2 separate regions of the Homo sapiens genome follow, and region 2 is linked to region 1. Evidence: promoter capture Hi-C in 16 types of primary human blood cells and fetal thymus (Javierre and others, 2016). All regions are on one chromosome and are shown on one strand. Each heading gives the region's core, a stretch centred on a gene start or on the middle of the fragment in contact. The rest is flanking DNA. Distances are from core to core; before and after follow the strand shown.

Region 1 (6,880 bases), core at 2,410-4,909:
CTCCTGTGGTCGGAAGTGGTTTTCTTCTCGATCTGGGCGCCTACTCCCCACCACTTGGTCTGAGAGGGGCTGGGGCCGGAAGGCCAGGGAATCTCTGGTGGATTTGGGGGTTCATATTGCTCAGGGTACCAGCCGATGCGTTTTGAGGGGCGGGAGTCGAGGAATTAGAATCGCCTTTAACCCTCAAGAGTTGCGCCTTCAGCCTCGGGATCCCAGATGCGTCGTTGGAGCCAGGGCCGCCCCCCTACCTGTTGGGTTTGCGTTTTAACTCCAGCGCACACCTTGCCGGCAGCCCTCGGAGCTAGGGGAGGGGTCTCGTTTCCCCGCAGCCCGCCGGACAGACGACTGGGGCACGGGAGGGGCGGTGGCAGGGTGGTCTGTGTGTGGCTGAAACTAATTGATCTGGAGCGGAAACGCACGTCTGCGGTTGGGGCGATGGGGGGGGCGGTGCGGCTGTCCATGTGCCGAGCGTGTGGCTGTCTCGGGTGGGCACTGGGGCCGGAGTTCGCCCCGGCCCACCTCGCAGTTTTGGGGCGCCTGGGATCGGCGCTACGTAAGCGAAGCAGAGCTGCCATAGCACGTGGGCCGCCACGCGCACCCCAAAAGCAAGCAGTGTGGGGGGAAGGGGAGCTCGAGCGCCTTCGGAGCCCAGGGGCCGGCTTTCGGAAGCGTTTTCCCGGGCGACTTAAGGGCTTAACAATGGAAAACTCGCGGAGCCTGAGCCAAGTCCTTTCAAGTCGCCGCCAGGTATGCGGCTGCAGGTGACCCCACCTGGGTGCGCCCGCCCGCCAGCCGCCCTGGTGGAAAAGCGGGTGCGGGAGGTCGCTGGCGAAAGGTCGGGACTGGTCCCTGCACCACCCGCCCCCAACCCAAGCCCCGAGCCCCGCGGCGCGCAGCCGCGCTGAGTCCCGGGGTCTGCGTCGCGGCGCGCCGGTTCCTGAATGAACGCGCTCCCTTCCCCCGCCTGAATGAAGGTTCCCACAGCCAGGGACGGTGGCGAACACGCGCCTGCAGCGGAATTCGCTTTCTCCTGACCGACCATCCGCCCAGGCCGCGGTCACCGGGGCGGGGGCCAGGGGGCGAGGAAAGCGTGAAGGTGATTTCAGTTAATTTTGGATTTTCTTTCAAACAACGTGGTTACCCTCCCGACTGGGCCACTTGCCCTTTGTCTCCAAATGGTCACCAAGAAATAAGAACAGAGCACTTTAAATGAGCCCAGAATCCGCAGTTCCTGCTTCGTGGTGGGTTTTAAGAAGACAGTGTAAAGTAAAACTGCAACCGAAAAGTTTTTTAAAGTTGCTTTTCTCTTTGGAAAAAATAAAATCAAAATGCTTTCTCTGCGCTTCTTGAAGCAATGACCCTCAAAAGCCCAGAGGTATTGGCCCCCTCGGGGGACCCGGGGGCCGCCAAGCAGGGTTCCCCCAGGTGGGGGCTGGGCAGCTGGCGCTCCCCGCCGGGCCCCAAATTCCAGCGCCGGGCCCCAAATTCCAGCGCCTCCCCCGCGGGTTCCTGGACGGCTCTTTACGCTCGCTAACCGGGCTTGCAATTTTGCGCTCGTCCCTGAGCCGGGAAATCAACGAAGTTCCTAGTCGAGATCTGCCCGGTCCGCCTAGTAACAGCGCCGCGCCCCCATTGGCTCATGCTAATTCCAGTTTCCTCTGTCTTGCGCCCGGGATGGGGGGGTGAAGCTCCCTCCTGGACCCAGAGCCGGTTGTGCCGGAGTGGGCGAGCCTCTTTATGCCCTGCTGCCCCTAGCCGACTTCGGCCCGCTTCGCGCCTCGGGCTGGGCCAGGGCGCACGCGGGGCTCGGGGCCCCTCGCCCCACGGGATGGGAGAGGCCGGGTGATAGCTCCGGGCCCCATAAATCATCCAGGCGGCCGCCGGGTCGGGATTTTATGAATGAAAAAGCAGCTGGGCCGCCCTTGTGCGCGGGCTGATGCTCTGAGGCTTGGCTATGCGGGGGCCAACGCGATTGTGGGTGCTCGGGGAGTGGGGGGGGGCACGACCGTAGGTGCTCCCTGCTGGGGCAACCCATCGCTCCCCATGCGGAATCCGGGGGTAATTACCCCCCCAGGACCCGGAATATTAGTAATCCTAATTCCCGGCGGGGGAGGGGGCGCGGGAGGAATTCACCCTGAAAGGTGGGGGTGGGGGGGGTCGCATCTTGCTGTGAGCACCCTGGCGAAGGGGAGAGGGCTTTTTCTATCAGTTTTCTTTGAGCTTTTACTGTTAAGAGGGTACGGTGGTTTGATGACACTGAACTATATTCAAAAGGAAGTAAATGAACAGTTTTCTTAATTTGGGGCAGGTACTGTAAAAATAAAAACAAAAGTTAAGACAGTAAAATGTCCTTTTATTTTTTAATGCACCAAAGAGACAGAACCTGTAATTTTAAAAACTGTGTATTTTAATTTACATCTGCTTAAGTTTGCGATAATATTGGGGACCCTCTCATGTAACCACGAACACCTATCGATTTTGCTAAAAATCAGATCAGTACACTCGTTTGTTTAATTGATAATTGTTCTGAATTATGCCGGCTCCTGCCAGCCCCCTCACGCTCACGAATTCAGTCCCAGGGCAAATTCTAAAGGTGAAGGGACGTCTACACCCCCAACAAAACCAATTAGGAACCTTCGGTGGTCTTGTCCCAGGCAGAGGGGACTAATATTTCCAGCAATTTAATTTCTTTTTTAATTAAAAAAAATGAGTCAGAATGGAGATCACTGTTTCTCAGCTTTCCATTCAGAGGTGTGTTTCTCCCGGTTAAATTGCCGGCACGGGAAGGGAGGGGGTGCAGTTGGGGACCCCCGCAAGGACCGACTGGTCAAGGTAGGAAGGCAGCCCGAAGAGTCTCCAGGCTAGAAGGACAAGATGAAGGAAATGCTGGCCACCATCTTGGGCTGCTGCTGGAATTTTCGGGCATTTATTTTATTTTATTTTTTGAGCGAGCGCATGCTAAGCTGAAATCCCTTTAACTTTTAGGGTTACCCCCTTGGGCATTTGCAACGACGCCCCTGTGCGCCGGAATGAAACTTGCACAGGGGTTGTGTGCCCGGTCCTCCCCGTCCTTGCATGCTAAATTAGTTCTTGCAATTTACACGTGTTAATGAAAATGAAAGAAGATGCAGTCGCTGAGATTCTTTGGCCGTCTGTCCGCCCGTGGGTGCCCTCGTGGCGTTCTTGGAAATGCGCCCATTCTGCCGGCTTGGATATGGGGTGTCGCCGCGCCCCAGTCACCCCTTCTCGTGGTCTCCCCAGGCTGCGTGTGGCCTGCCGGCCTTCCTAGTTGTCCCCTACTGCAGAGCCACCTCCACCTCACCCCCTAAATCCCGGGGGACCCACTCGAGGCGGACGGGGCCCCCTGCACCCCTCTTCCCTGGCGGGGAGAAAGGCTGCAGCGGGGCGATTTGCATTTCTATGAAAACCGGACTACAGGGGCAACTCCGCCGCAGGGCAGGCGCGGCGCCTCAGGGATGGCTTTTGGGCTCTGCCCCTCGCTGCTCCCGGCGTTTGGCGCCCGCGCCCCCTCCCCCTGCGCCCGCCCCCGCCCCCCTCCCGCTCCCATTCTCTGCCGGGCTTTGATCTTTGCTTAACAACAGTAACGTCACACGGACTACAGGGGAGTTTTGTTGAAGTTGCAAAGTCCTGGAGCCTCCAGAGGGCTGTCGGCGCAGTAGCAGCGAGCAGCAGAGTCCGCACGCTCCGGCGAGGGGCAGAAGAGCGCGAGGGAGCGCGGGGCAGCAGAAGCGAGAGCCGAGCGCGGACCCAGCCAGGACCCACAGCCCTCCCCAGCTGCCCAGGAAGAGCCCCAGCCATGGAACACCAGCTCCTGTGCTGCGAAGTGGAAACCATCCGCCGCGCGTACCCCGATGCCAACCTCCTCAACGACCGGGTGCTGCGGGCCATGCTGAAGGCGGAGGAGACCTGCGCGCCCTCGGTGTCCTACTTCAAATGTGTGCAGAAGGAGGTCCTGCCGTCCATGCGGAAGATCGTCGCCACCTGGATGCTGGAGGTGCGGGGCTTCGGGCGGCTCTCTTAAGACTTCCCTGCAACTTGTTGCCCAGACCCACGTTTCTTTGCTACTCACCCCCCTCCCTTCTCTCCCGCTAGAACTTTGAAGTTTGCCGTGGTGTTTCTAGGGATCCGTATTTTCAAAATAAAAATTGCGGGTATTTTCTGAAGGAGGAAGGGGTGGGGGTGGGGGTGCTAGAAGTAGCGTTTCGTGGGAGGGGAGAAGGGGGTCCGGGAGGGGTGCCTTCGGGAGAAGCCAGTGCCAGGGGCACCCCAATGGGCCCGAGGGTGCGGGCTGGCAGGCTGGGTGCGCTTTGTGTCCCCCGCCTGCGCCCCAGCCCGGCTGCGCCTCAGCGGCCGGGAGCCGCCAACTCCGGGGGGAGGGGGCATAGATTTGATTTTTAAATTAATATCCATGGACACGTATGCAAGGGCCGCTCGTGCCAGTATTATGCGCCATCTTTGCTCTTTTATTGCAAAGCAAAAGTGTTTATTAATAATTGGGGGCAGGGTGGGGGCGGGGAGCGGCCGCCGGGCGCTGGGGCCGCAGCTAAGGGCCGCGCGGCTGCCGGGAGCCCGCGGGAGGGGCGCAGGGACGCGGCATGGGTAGTTTTGGGGGGACGCCGCTAGGGAAGGGGGGGCCTTTGTTCAAGCAGCGAGTCCCGGGGCGCCCCGAACGGGCAGCCTGGGCCGGAGAGCACGGCGAGCTGCAAGGTCGCGTGGCCCCCAAGACGCCAGGGCTTGATCCCCGTCTGCAGGGATATCGGCTTGGAGGACCTTCTCCGAGCGAGCCGGGGGCCTGGGAGCACATTTTCAGACCTTCGGTGGGCGCCTGAGGGGCCCGCAAGTATTTTAAAATAATTTTTGAAAGTGCGGCGTGGTGCCCTTGCGAGAGGGAAACGCCGCCCGCGCCCAGGGGGAAGGGGGGGCCCCGGAGTTTGAATTCCTGGGGCTCCCCCCGGAGCCTGTAACGAACTCCCAACCCCCGGCCTGGGTAAAGGGTCGCCCGAGGGTCATTTTCAGGGTTTTTTTATGCACTTAGTTATTTTTTTAATATTTTTAAATATTTTTTGAAAAGATGACGTCTGGGGAAATGCGGCGCGGCGGCCTGGGACGCCACCTTTGTGTCTCGCAGGCGCGGCGCCCAACCCCGCGGCCCGTTCCGCGGCCCCGCACCCCAGTTGGTGTCGACCCCCAGTCAGAGGGACCACGGAGCTCCAGGGCGGGCCAGGGTCCCGGGGGCCGGCAGCCCGCGCCGCCGCGCACGCCGCCCAGCTGTGCCCGCTCCCGCCCCCACCGTGCCAGCCTCGCGGGGACTTTCCCTTTCAGTTTCGGGGAGGGTGGGTACTGGGGACGCGCGGGGGAGGGGGCGCATCACGGGAAGCTCCTGCCGCCCCCAGCCCCGACCCCTCGGCGCCCTCCAGACCTGGCGGCCCTGCCAAGCGCGATGGGGGGTGCGGGGGCGTGCGGGGGGGCGGCGCGACCTGGCGGCGGCGGTCACGGGCCCCGTGCCTCCGTAGGTCTGCGAGGAACAGAAGTGCGAGGAGGAGGTCTTCCCGCTGGCCATGAACTACCTGGACCGCTTCCTGTCGCTGGAGCCCGTGAAAAAGAGCCGCCTGCAGCTGCTGGGGGCCACTTGCATGTTCGTGGCCTCTAAGATGAAGGAGACCATCCCCCTGACGGCCGAGAAGCTGTGCATCTACACCGACAACTCCATCCGGCCCGAGGAGCTGCTGGTAACCACTGGACCCCGCCGCCCCCCGCCCCCCGCGAGCCGCACGCAGGACCACGGGGCCGGGGAAGGTGCAGGCGGTGGCGGCCGGCCCGCCTCTGACATATCTGCTCCTCCGAGGGAGGGCGGCCCCGCCGCCGGGCGTCCCTGTCCGGGGAGCGGGCGGGATCCTAGCCGCCCTCGTCCCGCCGCCCTGTGTGCGCTTGCCTGCGACTCCCACCGCGTTCGCGCCCCGCGGTGTGGCCGAAAAGTGGGCGGCGCGCGCCCTCCAGCGGCTGCACGAGGAGCGCCGCGCTCGGCGCTGAGCCTCCAGTTCCAGGTGGTGGGAGGTCTTTTTGTTTCCACTTGCAGAGTCTTTTCACGCGGCGGGCGCCTTTTCTGTTTTGATCTGGGATTGCGTGTTGCCCCAGCTCCCTTGAGTCCCCAGCATTCGCCAGCCCTCCCCTCCAACATCCAGGACCGCACGAGACGCAGGGGCCAGTGCTCTGAGCCGGAGGTGCGGCGTGGCCCGGCCCCCGTGCTGCCGGCTTCCCCGCGCCCCCGGGCTGGCCCGCACCTCCCCTGATGGCCGCTCACCCTGTGTTCGCAGCAAATGGAGCTGCTCCTGGTGAACAAGCTCAAGTGGAACCTGGCCGCAATGACCCCGCACGATTTCATTGAACACTTCCTCTCCAAAATGCCAGAGGCGGAGGAGAACAAACAGATCATCCGCAAACACGCGCAGACCTTCGTTGCCCTCTGTGCCACAGGTAGGGCAGGCCCGGCAGCCCCCGGCCTCCCCTTGAGAGCCGGCTCCTTAGGTGACCCTGGCCGGCTTCTTGCTCTCCACCTGGGTGCTGTCTGGGAAGATGTCCCCAGACCCCCTCCTGCGCTGGAGAGCGCTCTTCCAGCTCTGGTGAGCAGAGGCCCTGGATTGTTTGTCGCGCTGGATGGAGGGAGATTTGCTCCCTCACGGCCACCATGCAGTACCTTGGGCATTGGTGTGGACGGCTCAGCCTGCCTGTGTCCCGTTACTCTGGCCTCGTCCTTCAGGCCAGGCAGCCTGTGGCCACTCCATGCTGAAAGGGGTTTACCTTGGCCACAGGGCCGCCTCCTTTCTCCACCCACCTCCAGCCCTTCTTGTGTCCTTAAGGA
Region 2 (6,880 bases), core at 2,554-5,053, 450 kb before region 1:
GAGCCCCATTTTCATGACCCTGGCATCCCCAGGGAAGTCATCCCTGCCACCCCTGGATTGGTGCTATCAGCCTTCCTGCGCAGAATGTTCCAGAATGTCATCCCCTGCCCGGGAAAACTGGCCCTTTGAGTGGCTGACCAGCCCCCACTCCCAACCACTCTCCTTGGCTCTATTTGTAAAGTGAATTACTGCATTATGGGAGGAACAAGAAGGTTCTTTATCTCCACTTGGGCAAATCCATTAGGATTAGAGGCCCCTCTGAAGCCCCTCTGAGGGGGTGACGTAAGCCTGTCTTTGGTGATTTGCAGAGTGACAGCATGATAAGGAGTCCGGGCCCGTTTTAGTGGTGACAGGACATCCTCCCCCTGCAGCACCCAAGAATTAGCGGGCCTATCTCTCCATTTATCAAAGCCCTTTGGGGGATGAGGCAATCGGGCGGAGGAGTATTGCAGCCTCTCTGTCTCGGAGTCTGTGGAGCTGTCGCTTCCCGCCAGCTTGCCCAGGTCATACAGCTGCCCAGGATCTGCGGGGTCTTCGTGACTTCCCACAGTGAGAACCAACAGAAGGGTCTCCAACTGCCAGGCTTCGTGGCCCAGGTCCCTCCAGTGTCTGACCTGCATGGCCTGCCACCCTCTAGACAATGCCCAGACTTTTGCCCTGAAATACCATGAGGATGGGGATGCCATTATCTAGCAAGGGGACCGCCATGTCTGGGGAAAAATTCAAGGGTTCTGCCTGGCTCAGGCTCAGTCTGAGGTGCTAGGGAAGATGGCAGGTCCCAAAGATGATGCCCCCTGTATATCTCCCATTCCACCTGCTCTTCTTACAAAGTAAGGTCGACACTCTCCCTTTGAGAGGAAGAGTGACCCTGTCCCTGAGCTTGTGCAGACCTGTACGCTGACAGAGTATATGGCAGGAGTGACGCCCTGTGGCTCCTGAGTTGAGGGCTGAAAAGGCAATATGGCTTTCATTTGACTCTCTCTTTCTTGGAATTCATCCTCCATGTTGTGAGGAAGCCCAAGCCACATGGAGAGGCCATGTGTGGTTCTGGCCAGCAGCCCTTGCCAGGCCCGCAGCTGACATCAGCCTCAACTGGCAGACATGAAGGTGAATGAGCCTTCAGGTGGTTCTGTCTCTAGCCTCTGAGCCACCCCAGCTGAGGCCCCAGATGTCACTGGGTGGAGAGAAACCATCCCCGCTGTGCCTGCTTGACCGGCAGAAGCCATGAGAGATAACAAATGATGATTGTTGTTTTGAGTGACTCCATCTTGGGGCAGTGTTATTCAAACAGAATAACCAGAACACATGCTGCTAATAAAGACGTATCTGAGACTGAGTGATTTATGAAGGAAAGAGGTTTAATTGGCTCACAGTCCCACATGGCTGGGGAGGCCTCACAATCATGGCTGAAGGTGAACAAGGAGCAAAATCACGTCTTACATGGCAGTAGGCAAGACAGCATGTGTAGGGGAACTCCCCTTTATAAAACCATCAGATCTCAGGAGACTTATTCACAGTCACGAGAACAGCATGGGAAAGACCCACCCGTATGATTCAATTACCTCCCACCAGATCCCTCCCATGATAAGTGGGAATTATGGAAGCTACAGGAATTATGGGAATTACAATTCAAGATGAGATTTGGGTGGACATACAGTCAAACCATATCACCGTTTGTGTGTGGAAGGCAGAATAGTGGCCCCCAAAAATGTCTTCATCCTAATCCCTGAAATTTGTGAACATGTTAGGTTACAGGACAAAGGGGAATTAAAGTCACAGATGGAATTAAGGCTAATAATCAGCAGGCCTCAAGATAGGGAGACCATCCTGAATCATCCAGCTTGGCCCAGTGTCATCACAGGGTCCTTAAAAGTGGAAGAGAGGGAGTAAGAGGAGAATCAGAGGGAGTTGTGATGGTGGAGGCAAGGCACAGAAAGATGCAGTGTTGCTGGCTTGGAACATGGAGAAGGGGCACGAGCCAGGAAATGCTGGTGGCCTCCAGAAGCTGGAAAAGGCAAGGAAATGATTTGCACCCGCAGGCTCCAGAAGGAACCTGGATTCAAGCCCTGTGAGACCTGTCCTGACCTCTGGGACTGTAGAGTGATAAGTGTCTGTTACTTTACGCTACCAAGTTTGTGGTGTTTTGTTGTAGCAGCAATAACAACTGACACAGCCTCTATGTGCTCTTGGGAATGAGAGAAGGAGATAATATCAAAGAAAAAGAGGGCCTAGCTGCAGGAGAAAGGTCTTGCATAGGTGAGAGGGAATGGGGGCCAGGACCCCAGTCATAGCCATTTAATAGTAATGCCATCAGCATCATTGTTATCAGCATCATCACCACCATTGTCATCATCATTGTCACCATCATTACCACCATCATCATCATCACCATCATCATCATAATCACCATCATCATCATTGTCGTCATAATCACCATTATCATCATTGTCATCATCACCATTATCATCGTCATCATCATCATCACCACCACCACCACCACCACCATCACCACCATCATCATCATTGTCATCATAATCACCATTATCATTATCATCATTACCACCACCACCACTACCATCATCATCATTATCATCATCATCACCACCACCATCATCGTCATCACTGTCATTATTATCATTGTCATTGTCACCATTGTTGTCATCTTCATTGTCATCATCATTATGAAGACTGTTCAGCAAAGACCCCAGGAGGTAGGGCCCCATCAGGAGACAGCATTTTCCCTGCAGGGATAGGTGGCCTCTAGCACTTAGTTCAACTCTTTCCTTTTCTGGGGATGGGGGTGCAGGAGGGAAAACCTAGGATCCCATCCAAACCCTCCACATTTTATCTCTTGCTTCATTTGCCTCTTTCTCTCCTGCCTTATTTGAGAGCTGATGTCCCTCCGACCTCTTTTGGAACACTGTTGACAGACAGCACAGGGCTGTAGGAACCCACTGGCCCTGGAGCCGACTGCCTGTGCTTGAATCCTGTCTCTAGCACCAATATTTGGGTAACCTTGGGTTATTTAACCTCTCTGTCCCTCAGTGTTCCCACCTCTAGAAGGAGATGAATGCTTCTGCCTCATAGGGGAGTTGTGACTTATACCTGGAATGAACTTTGGCCTATAATGGGTGTGTGACAAGTCTCCTCAGCATTGGACAGCTTCACTGCTCTGCGCCCAAGACTGCCCTCGTCAGTGCTGGATGAATGAGGCCAGGAGGCGGGGGAAAGAATGGAGGCAGGTGCCCAAGCTTGGGTTTGGGGCAACATCGAGCTAAAGAGCCAGAAGGCAGGGCTGCATGATCCCAAACTCTACCAGAGGCTTCCTCTCCCTGACTCCAAAGTCCTTTAGCCCTGGGCAGGTAGAAAGAAGGCGGGGGCCGGAGATGGAGATTCCCGGTGGACAGTAATGGTGCCTGGCCGCTACCATGGCTGAAGTTTGCCCCTCTGGCCTTGCCTGGGGACTGGCAGTCTCAAGACAGTGGAGAGAGGCTAAACTCCATCCTGCCCCTGGTAGAACCTGACACTGGACATCAGAGGCATCTTGGAAGGTGGTGTCTTCCCGGCCTGTTCCAGGGCAGGCATGTGAGACAACTTTGCCCAAGAATGCAAGCACCTTCCTGGGTCCCTACCATGAGGGCTCATGTTGTTTACCATAGTAGTTTGCAGACATAAACAAAATAATAATAAAATTGATGTATTAAAGAAACTTTTCATTGAATGGAGTTTTTAATAGAAAACTTAGTTTGAAAAAAACAGACAGGCTGAGTGTGGTGGCTCACACCTGTAATCCCAGCAATTTGGGAGGCTGAGATGGGAGGATTGCTTGAGGCCAGGAGTTCAAGACCTGCCTGGACAACATAGCAAGACTTCATCTCTACAAAAAAATTAAAAATTAACCTGGTATGGTGGCATACGCCTGTGGTCCCAGCTACTCGAGAGGCTGAGGTGGGAGGATTGCTTGAGCCTGGCAGTTCGAGGCTGCAGTGAGCTATGATCGCACTGCTGCCCTCCAGCCTGGGAGACTGAGTGAGACCCTGTCTCTAAATAAATAAGTAAATAAATAAATGGTCCTCCCAGTGGACACAGCCCTGGCTGGAAGGTGGGTTCTTGGCTGAGTTTCAACCCCGTTCAACCACGTGATGTTGGGAAGATGGTGAGATCTTTCTGAATCTCAGTGTCTCCATCTGCAGAGACAGAGGCGCAAAATGGCACCACTACACAGCACTGCTCCCTGGGCCGTCAGGGGCAGGGTTCCTGGGTGGCGCCAGCCATGTGGGCTCATGTCCCCTGGCAATCTTGTGACGTCGTCTCCCATTTCCACCTGGACATTGCCCATCGGTCCCTCCATGGGTGGAAGCTTCCCTGTGATGCTGGGGGTGCAGAGCGCTCCTCCATGGTTCTGCCTGTGCCTGTGGGTGATGCCCTTGCTCGGCTGGGCTGGAAGTGGCCACTTGGCCGTACAAAGCACTCTCCATCTGTGATAGGATGACTTCACAGCCGCAGCTGGGTCTCCTGGGCCTCTCGGACCCTTCCTCAGAAGGCTCTCAGGGCTCTGCAGCTGGGCAGAGCCTGCATGATTCGTGGCACTGTCCCTTTCTCCCTTGATTTCTCTGCACCTCAGTCTTCCCATCTGTAAAGTGGGGATGCTGACAGCCCATGCGGTAGGGTGTTAGGAAAAGCAGGCAGAGAATGCCCGGGGAAGACCTGGCTGGCGGTTGACCTGCAGTGAGTAGTGGTGAGGGGCAGTGTTGCCACTTGAGGAATAGCGCTGAGAGAGACCAGGCAGAGGTGAGGTTTTGAGACCAGGGAGATGTTCAGGGTGACTGGGGTGGTGGGTAGTGAGAAGGGGAGACTACAGCGTTGTTAGGGGCTTGGAAGTCTGAGCTAAAGAGCTTAGACTTCATGTTGTAGCATGGAAGAGCTGGTTGTAGGGCTGAAGAGACAGAAACAGAGAAGGCAAGCAACGTAGCCAATGTCACATGGCCCATTTTTTTTTTTTTTGAGATGGAGTTTAGCTCTTGTTGCCGAGACTGGAGTGCAATGGCATGATCTCGGCTAGCTGCAACCTCCGCGTCCTGGGTTCAAGCAATTCTCCTGTCTCAGCCTCCCGAGTAGCTGGGATTACAGGCATGCGCTATCACGGCTGGCTAATTTTGTATTTCTAGTAGAGACGGGGTTTCTCCATGTTGGTCAGGCTGGTCTCAAACTCCTGATCTCAAGTGATCCTCCCACCTCGGCCTCCCAAAGTGCTGGGATTACAGGCATGAGCCACCATGCCCAGCCCACACTGCACTTTAGTGGCAAACTGGGATGAGGATGGGCATCCTGTTTCTCTACCTCTCAACAGTGTCTGAGCCTTGGGTGCAGCCTTGCAGGTGAAACCCTGGGCTGAGAGTAGAGGCTGTAGCGCCCTTGACCTTGAGTGCAGGTGACATTTCCAAGCTGTCTTTAATTTGCCTTGAAATCAGGCACAAATCCTTTGCAAAACAGGAAACTCTCTCTTTGGGACTGACATGAAATAGTATTGCTATTGAATTAAAGAGTTAGAGCTGTCTCAAAGGAGTGGCATATTGAAATAGCCGGTGGGGTCAGCCCAGCCTGGCTAAGCCTTTGATAGCACAGCTGATAATAGACCCCGGCCTATAAATACCGGGAATCAATCACGGGCTGGAGCTGCTGACAGCCTGCATGTTCACATATCATGGCAGATGGGCGGGAGGCAGGGGCGGCGATTTGTCTTGCCTTTCAGATGGATTTCCTGTTTTCTAGGGAGTGGGAAAGGACCCATCTGGTAATCAGATCGTGGCCAAGATCACCTCCTCTGGGTCACTGGCCCCTGCTCCATGTGTCCCCTCGGCCACGTGGCCCCAGCATTGCGGCGGTCAGGCGGCCGGGCCTCTGAAAATGAGAGCCACACCAGGAGGCCTCTCGCCCCGTGGAAGCTTCCGGAGGCTGGGGAGGCGGGGACTCCTGCCTTTCATCTTCCTTTCTGCTTCTTTTCTTGGCACCTGGCTTTGCTCATAGGCATTTCGTTATTATTTTTTTCTTCAAAGGCTCGTCTCAACTTGCACATGTATGTGCAAACTTCCACAAACACATGCACATGTGTGTGTGCACACATGGGGTCCACAGCCTCCTTTGCAGGCCCTCCTGGGCTTCCCTGTCAACCCACAGCTCCTCCTAGATGCGTCCTGATGCCTTAGCCAGGTAGAGTTCTCTGTAATATTATTTGTTCTGATCATTGCATTTTCACTGCTCCTGACTCTCAGTTTACAACATAGCCCAAGGCCAGCTACGGCTCTGAGCCACCTTTTTGTCTTGGGCAAGGTGTCCCAGAGCTGAAGGGTCCACACTCTCCTTGGCTCCGCCAGGAGTCTCTGTCCCTCCTCCCCTCTTACTTCCCCCAATCCCCAGGCATTCACAGAGTGGGTCCTTTGTGTGAGACCTTGGGCTGGTGGACACATGGGGCTCTTTCTTCCTGAGGAGCTGGTCGGGGGATGCGTCTATCCTGATCATATCTCAGGTGTCTTCTCTCCCCTGGCTCATGAAATCTCCTGTCTCCCAAATTATGTCCAGACAGGGGTGGTAGCAGGCATCTCTCTCTTCCAGCCCAGAGGCCCACCCACCAGCCAAATGGGGCATTTAATTGGAAAGGGAGGCTGGCAGGCTGCCTGGAAATCCTGCAGAAAGGATCGGAGTGGCCTGCTTTGAAAACTTTGCCACATACCTTCCCCGCAGATTTCTGTTTCAAATATTTGAAGGGGTTCTTGGGACCATTTGAGAATTACACCCGGAGCCATGCAATGACAGATCCCTCCAAACCCTGGTGGGGCCTGTGTGGTGGTGCCGCCCAATCACTTGGTATAAATGGGAAACG

The links. Contacts are between HindIII fragments. The CHiCAGO score rates a contact against its expected background, and 5 or more counts as called.
Region 2: a fragment that was not itself captured here is called in contact with the fragment with the promoter of CCND1 in region 1 in 1 of 17 cell types (M1 macrophages); the score reaches 5.9 in M1 macrophages.

What each region holds. Positions count from the first base shown.
Region 1 is chr11:69,637,497-69,644,376 of GRCh38, forward strand. It overlaps CCND1 (cyclin D1), which reads left to right and starts at 3,660. Exons shown (of 5, transcript NM_053056.3): 1 at 3,660-4,015; 2 at 5,535-5,750; 3 at 6,336-6,495. The coding sequence starts at 3,818. RefSeq lists silencers at 528-731, 5,256-5,395, 5,486-5,545, 5,676-5,935 and enhancers at 544-1,484, 1,485-2,423, 3,931-4,633, 6,152-6,880. The HindIII fragment of the contact is 14,749 bases long and covers 1-6,880 here.
Region 2 is chr11:69,186,711-69,193,590 of GRCh38, forward strand. No RefSeq gene overlaps it. Among named protein-coding and RNA genes, the nearest start is that of SMIM38, 34 kb to the left of the region's middle. The HindIII fragment of the contact is 1,109 bases long and covers 3,250-4,358 here.